2 separate regions of the Homo sapiens genome follow, and region 2 is linked to region 1. The links are contacts of gene promoters, found by promoter capture Hi-C in human tissues and cell types (Jung and others, 2019). All regions are on one chromosome and are shown on one strand. The core of a region is centred on a gene start or on the middle of the fragment in contact, and the rest is flanking DNA. Distances in the headings are between cores, read along the strand shown. Region 1 holds the start of FAS (Fas cell surface death receptor). Region 2 overlaps LOC105378418 (a long non-coding RNA gene).

Region 1 (3,744 bases), core at 339-2,838:
TTATAATTCACACTCAAGAGATACTGATTTTGTCAATTGTCCTTTCCCCTTTTTTTCTCTCTTCCCTCCTTCCATTCCTTCTTCCCTTACCTCTCCTTTCCTTCCCTCACACCCCTTTTCCTTCCTTCTTTTTACATTTTTTTATTTAAATGAACTTTTCATTTTGGAATAGTTTTAGGATTTCAAAAAATTTGCAGAGATAATACAGAGAATGCCCATATACCATCCTCCTTATCCCACTTCTTTTTGTGTCTATTAGATGCTCAGAGTGTGTGCACAAGGCTGGCACGCCCAGGGTCTTCCTCATGGCACTAACAGTCTACTGAAAGGTGGAACAGAGACAAGCCTATCAACACCTACAAGACTGGTGGTAAGTGCAGTGACAGATGCAAAACACAGGGTGATGGAAAGCCCTCAGGAGGGTAACCTAACCTAGATTTGAGGGCCCAAACAGGCTCCAGAAGAAAATGTCAACTGAGAGGAAGCCTGAAGGATGAACAGTGGGCTAAGCAAAGGGTTATTAATGTGTTATTAATGGGTTGAATCTAATTGGGAAGGGAGAGAGGTTGCAGAGTGAGGTGCAGAGCTTGGTGGACGATGCCAAAGGAATACTGAAACCTTTAGTGTGTCCAGTCTGGAACTGCATCCAAATTCAGGTTCAGTAATGATGTCATTATCCAAACATACCTTCTGTAAAATTCATGCTAAACTACCTAAGAGCTATCTACCGTTCCAAAGCAATAGTGACTTTGAACAGTGTTCACCAGAGCACGAAAGAATTACAAGATTTTTTTTTAAAGAAAATTGGCCAGGAAATAATGAGTAACGAAGGACAGGAAGTAATTGTGAATGTTTAATATAGCTGGGGCTATGCGATTTGGCTTAAGTTGTTAGCTTTGTTTTCCTCTTGAGAAATAAAAACTAAGGGGCCCTCCCTTTTCAGAGCCCTATGGCGCAACATCTGTACTTTTTCATATGGTTAACTGTCCATTCCAGAAACGTCTGTGAGCCTCTCATGTTGCAGCCACAACATGGACAGCCCAGTCAAATGCCCCGCAAGTCTTTCTCTGAGTGACTCCAGCAATTAGCCAAGGCTCCTGTACCCAGGCAGGACCTCTGCGCTCTGAGCTCCATTCTCCTTCAAGACCTCCCCAACTTCCCAGGTTGAACTACAGCAGAAGCCTTTAGAAAGGGCAGGAGGCCGGCTCTCGAGGTCCTCACCTGAAGTGAGCATGCCAGCCACTGCAGGAACGCCCCGGGACAGGAATGCCCATTTGTGCAACGAACCCTGACTCCTTCCTCACCCTGACTTCTCCCCCTCCCTACCCGCGCGCAGGCCAAGTTGCTGAATCAATGGAGCCCTCCCCAACCCGGGCGTTCCCCAGCGAGGCTTCCTTCCCATCCTCCTGACCACCGGGGCTTTTCGTGAGCTCGTCTCTGATCTCGCGCAAGAGTGACACACAGGTGTTCAAAGACGCTTCTGGGGAGTGAGGGAAGCGGTTTACGAGTGACTTGGCTGGAGCCTCAGGGGCGGGCACTGGCACGGAACACACCCTGAGGCCAGCCCTGGCTGCCCAGGCGGAGCTGCCTCTTCTCCCGCGGGTTGGTGGACCCGCTCAGTACGGAGTTGGGGAAGCTCTTTCACTTCGGAGGATTGCTCAACAACCATGCTGGGCATCTGGACCCTCCTACCTCTGGTGAGCCCTCTCCTGCCCGGGTGGAGGCTTACCCCGTCTTAGTCCCGGGGATAGGCAAAGTGGGGCGGGCGCGGGACGCGTGCGGGATTGCGGCGGCAGCGGCGCACGCGGGCACCTGGGAGCGGCGGGCTGCTGCGGGAGGCGTTGGAGACTGGCTCCCGGGGGCTGTTAGGACCTTCCCTCAGGCCCGGGTGCTCAGAACGCTGGAGGACTTGCTTTTCTTGGGCCTTGATGCGAAGTGCTGACCCCGCTGGGCAGGCGGGGCAGCTCCGGCGCTCCTCGGAGACCACTGCGCTCCACGTTGAGGTGGGCGTGGGGTGCGGACAGGAATTGAAGCGGAAGTCTGGGAAGCTTTAGGGTCGCTGGAGGGGGACCCCGGTTGGAGAGAGGAGCGGAACTCCTGGACAAGCCCTGACAAGCCAAGCCAAAGGTCCGCTCCGGCGCGGGTGGGTGAGTGCGCGCCGCCCCGCGGGGGCGGGGAGAGAGCCTGCAGCCTTCAGAACAGATATTGCTCATTTTCTGGCAGTTCTCAGACGTAGGAAATAAGTCAGCACCGAAGCAGTGGTTAAGCCGGAGGGCTCGGAAGAACGGCACCTTTTCTTTCTCGAAAAAGTTATATGGGGGCTGAATGAGCTTCTGGAGGCTTGTTTACCGTTTTTTATTGTCACACAGAAAAAGAAACTGCCTTGTCTCCCTTCCGGGAATTCTCTCTTTAAGACTGTAAGTCGCTGCCTGAGTGGTTTCATTTTGTTTTGTTTTTCTGCCCTTCTCTTTCTTCTTTTGCCCTTTCTTAGCTTGCACTCCCATGGTGATTTCTGCTTGGTCTCCTGCTGGGGTTGGTGGTACTCGTTCCCACCGCACAGAACCCGGCGCCTATTATTGGCCAAGAAACTTGAGCAGCCTGTTTTGAAAAGTCCCTCGCTCAGAAATGCCAGCTTGCAGATGGCTAATCAAAGAGACGTGGATCCAGGAGGCTCATTTGAGTACCGGAGCCTCTGAGAGTCCATGGATTTTTATTTTATTGGGCCCCAACAAAGTGCCAGGCATAGCGAGAGAAGTGTTTACAAATGTGATCTCCGCGGATTCTCACGAGAGCCATGTAGTGGGGAAGATAACCACATCCCCATTTTACAGATGGCGAAATGAGGTTCAGAGAGCTTCAGTAATTCAGCCAAGATCACACAGCTAGTAAATGGGAGATATGGGATTGAACTCAGATCTAATTCCAAAACTCAGGCTGTTCGCTGATTGCATCTGATATCCAGATTACACCAAGAGGCTGAGATGTCTGGGTCCATTTTATGATTAGAAAAAAAAATCCTGTTCCTTTCAGAAATAGTGTGCACTATTTGGGATTCTTTAGAAACTTCCTTGGAGAAAATTAATGATTCAAGATTGAGAAAACATTTATACAACCTCAGGCCACACTCTTCTCTCTCTTGTTATTAACCATTGCACCACTGCAATGTTGGCTGCTTTGAAAATCTCATAGTTTTTGGACAGCAGTATTAGTAAAGTGTAAGAAAATTGTCAAAGCTTGGAGCTATGCTTGTTGAACTTTTGTACCAATAGCACCTTTACCAGAGGCTGCGTGTTTAAAGCCCGAAGAAAACTTTGCTTTTCTGAAAGAATACACACACACACGCATATGTAAATATTCATACATTTATGTATATATACATATTATAATACCTATAAGTTAGGTATAACTTATATTTGTATATGATATATGGCCTAGGAAATTAAGGCTTATTAAATAAAATTTATAAATGCAGATGAGTCAAATACAAAGATCAGACATAACTCTATCACCTAAGTAATCATTGTTTACGTTTTGCAGTTTATCTTCCATTTCTCCCCTCTAATATGACTCTTTTAAATTTAGTTACACAGAAATTGGTTTTGCGCTCACGACATGCCTAACATCAGGCCTTTATCCTTAAAGAAGTTTCAACACTCTTGTGTCACCTCATGTGTCTACAGAAAATGTTTGCTTTTATGCCTTCACGGTTATGTTTTCTTAGTAGTAGCAATAAATAAAATAGAT
Region 2 (3,889 bases), core at 278-2,777, 190 kb after region 1:
CACTTTGGGATACCGAGGCAGGCGGATCACCTGAGGTTGAGAGTTCGAGACCAGCCTGACCAACATAGAGAAACCCCGTCTCTATTAAAAATCCAAAATTAGCCGGGCATGGCGGCTCATGCCTGTAATCCCAGCTACTTGGGAGGCTGAGGCAGGATAATCACTTGAACCCAGGAGGTGGAGGTTGCAGTGAGCTGAGATTGCACCATTGCACTCCAGCCTGGGCAACAAGAGGGAAACTCCATCTCAAAAAAAAAAAGAAAGAAAGCAAGAAAGAAAAAGAAAAGAAAGAGATTTATGGGTTAAAGTTTTAGGCTAAATGAACTCAATGAAGCTTTAATCTATGAATGTAAGTTTTAACCCAGCAGCCCATAAAAGCTTTTGCATTTTATGGCTGCCTAAAAATTTATTTTACTGAACTCTGTGGAAGAAGGGAGCATTTTGGTGGGGGTAAGGGAGACATGAAATGAGAGGCCACAGTCCCCAAAAATTAACTCTACTGTAACCCTTGAGTAGGTGTAGAAGAAGGAGTTCCATTGCTGAGAAGCAAGATATCATTAGAGTGGTATTTATGATGGGAGTTAGGGGGTTAATATAAAATTATCAAGGGTGACCTTATGGAGGAAGTTTAATTTTTGACAGGCTTTTAAGATGAGTTTAAATGGGGAAAAGGAAGGAGTAATTTGCCAGACTGGAGGCATAGATGGTGGTCTAAGGTCCGAGGGAGAAGGTCAGCTTCACAGAGCACAGCTAAGCTGTCCAAGGCCATGGAATCCTATGCCATTGCTGATCTTTAGCTCCGTACACAAGTATGGCTTTATTGGATTTTAAAATATTGAAATCAGTCATCCTCATTCTTCACAGATTCCTACTTGCTAAAATGTATATGTAACCTCAAAAATCAATAATCATGGCACTTTCATTGTCATTTGTGGACATGCTCAGAGCAGCAAAATATTTGAGTCACCCATTGGGCACATTCCCAGCTGAGGTCAAACAAGGCAATGTTCTATCTTCTTGCATTAGCTCTCTTTCTGTAAACACATGTCCTTGCTATGGTCTATTTAGTGCCACGTTTTTCACACTTTTGTGTTTTTGTTGGTGATTTTGCTGTTTAAAATCGCCCCAAGCATAATGCCAAAGTGCTTTCTAGTGATCCTAAATAAAAGGAGGCTATGCTGTGCCTTATGGAGAAAATACATGTATTAGAAAAGCTTACTTCAGACATGAGTTATAGTGCTATTGGCCATGTTTAATGTTAATGAATCAATAATATGTCTTAAATAAGGTGGTTTTAAACAGAAACACACATAAAACAAGGTTATCTATTGGTCAGTTGACAAAAAATCTTGTGATCAGAAGCTCTCAGGAACCCAACCCTATATTTCCCCTAGGAGCAATGGTTCAGGATTTACTAATTCAGTGCTTATAGCAACTTTATAGAACATACCATTATGAATAACAAGAATCAAATGTACTTCCACACTCCTTAGTAAGTAACTACTAGTCCTACCCACGATGAGTGTCTTCCCATTGCCTTGGCTGCCCTGTCCTCTGCCTCTAGCCACGCACCCTCCTAGAACTCTCCATTGTCTATCAGCTGAAGGTCTAGGAGCGGCCTCTAAAATGCGGAAGACCACCATTCTGATTGCTTAGTACCTGTGCTGTGTTTGATGTTAGATATTTTTAATATCACCTTTGTGTATAAATATCTCATTGACTTCTCTCCCATAGGGAACATAATAAGTCTTCCATTAAACAGAACTTGTCCAAAGAACTGTTATTCAATCAAAAGTATGTGAGTTCTGTCCTTTTAGAAAGGGAGACGTAATTCACAAGAAAAATCAAAATAAAAAATTTGTGAAAATACCTAATTTTCTGACATTCATTAATTCTCAGCCAGGCTCTTAGGCTATCTAAAAAGTCCTGACAAATGAGAATGAACCTGAGAATCATTTTTCTTGTCATTTGCTCAAAAGATTAATTTCCTGATATTCTAGGTTTAAAAAAAGAGGAGTAAGATGGTAAAATGTGAAGGAAATATCTGATGCTTGAAATAATTCAGAATTTGCCATGTTGGAGAGATATTTTAGAGATATCCCATAAAGGGTATTAGGATTTGACAACAATAAGAGTTGAAGAAGTGTTCTGATTCTATTAATAGAATCAAGGACAAAAGCCCTAGGGTCACAAGAAACCTGAATTCTGTTGACTAAAGAAAATAGCAATGTTTTAAAAAATTAACATATGTTTTATTAATTAATTAATTAATTAATTAATGTGTTTATTCATTAAAGCTTGTTTTCAGAAGCCTTGAGGGCTATCAGTTGAGAACTACAGCCCTGGAAGCGCCCATCAGAGAGGTTCTGTCAGACGGCTCTGACACAGTATTCCAGCTCACAGCTTACACAAAGGTAGTGGAAGTTCAGTATGTGTTCAGAAGTTACATCAAATTTGTTCAGAAGTTACATTAAAGCAGAATCACCTAAAGTTTAGGTGCAAGAGTACATCTGGTTATAGATTACAGAGGCATAGTCACTAACTCTGTCAGACATTATCTTATGAGTAGGAAAAGGCAAGGACTAGGATTATATATCTTTTAAGGATGTAGTGACTTGGGAAAGAGACATGAGGGGCCAGGTGCTCTATCCTGCTTTGTCTTCAGAGCATTCTTCCATAGAGCTGCTCATAGAGTCAGGGGCTGTGTGAAATTATGCTGGAGAGCAGAAGTGAGCAAACATAGGTTTGCTGCTTTGTCTCACATTTTAAATCTCAGCTTTGCCATATATTTCACATATTCAAACTTAGGTAAGTCACTGAACCTAGATAAACCTGTTCCTTAATTGGTTAAGGACAATTAACCTTGTGGACAGACCAAGTTCTACTCTCAAAGGGTCTTTGGAGGGGGTTAAAAATAGACAATGTGTAGAGTACTGAGCACAGAGCTTGATGCAGATAAAGTTGACAATTATTAGCAGTTATTATTAAATTGTTTTTATGCAACATTTATATTTCCTTTAATATATAAGTAATATATGCTTGTGTTTTTTGAAAAATTGAAAATATAAGGAAAGAACATATAAAGAAACCATTATAACTTTATTATCCAGAGACTACCTCTTTTAAAATTTTGGTGTATATTTTTTAGACTATATTACAACTCTCTACTTTTTTTAAGTATCTACAAATGTTGTAAGCATTTGAATGTAATTTTAATGGGCAAAGTACATAATGCAATTCTTTGATGAGAAAAATTATTGATTTCCTAGTGACTCCTTAACGTAATGATTTGTTCAATGTGCTGTTCATCTGTAGCATATTTATTATAAGAATTGGAAGACAGGTGTCGGTAAACGCCAAATTTCATACAAACACCAAGAATTGTTTAGAAAGAACTTGTCCTGTGACTCTTCCCTGCCATTTTCCAGTTCCCATGGATCTATCAGCCTATTCGTTAGTTGCTTTTCATCATATCAGGAGGCTCATACTCAGCTGCAGGATGACAGTCTAGTCAGCATTTCCAAAAGGGCAAAAATCACTCAGGCCTCATCAGAGTGTGCACACACTCACACCCCCACTGCCTGCGAAGAGTACTGCTGCAACCTGCTACAACCTATGTGCCAGTTTCACATGCAGCTATCTCTGAGTACAAACTGACAGTATTGAGGGATAGATGAGATGGTAGACTTCAGCAATAATCTACAAATATTTTGGCTAACAAGCTGATTATTCCCTATTTTGTTCAAACAAGCATACCATAACTGATCCATTTCAAAGACTAATTCAAGGGACTAATTTACACCTCGTATACTGATGCCACTGTTGCTCAGAATATTCTGGGAGAGATCTCTCTCTCTCTCTTTCTCTTGAAAGTACCTTCAGAGGATTT

Evidence for each region. The method cuts DNA at HindIII sites, captures the fragments that hold promoters and counts their contacts. A contact is called where the count stands out against the background at its distance.
Region 2: a contact is called between a fragment that was not itself captured here and the fragment with the promoter of FAS in region 1, in 1 of the 25 tissues and cell types used here (H1 embryonic stem cells).

What each region holds. Positions count from the first base shown.
Region 1 is chr10:88,989,210-88,992,953 of GRCh38, forward strand. FAS (Fas cell surface death receptor) reads left to right here and starts at 1,589. Exons shown (of 9, transcript NM_000043.6): 1 at 1,589-1,697. The coding sequence starts at 1,668. FAS-AS1 (FAS antisense RNA 1) reads right to left here. Exons shown (of 1, transcript NR_028371.1): 1 at 2,213-3,744. It also overlaps a transcript of ACTA2 not described here. RefSeq lists a silencer at 285-334 and enhancers at 742-1,253, 1,254-1,764, 1,905-2,314, 2,445-2,524. The HindIII fragment of the contact is 1,672 bases long and covers 969-2,640 here.
Region 2 is chr10:89,179,527-89,183,415 of GRCh38, forward strand. LOC105378418 (a long non-coding RNA gene) reads left to right here. Exons shown (of 4, transcript XR_946180.4): 2 at 2,298-2,414. Among named protein-coding and RNA genes, the nearest start is that of CH25H, 26 kb to the right of the region's middle. The HindIII fragment of the contact is 3,582 bases long and covers 1-3,318 here.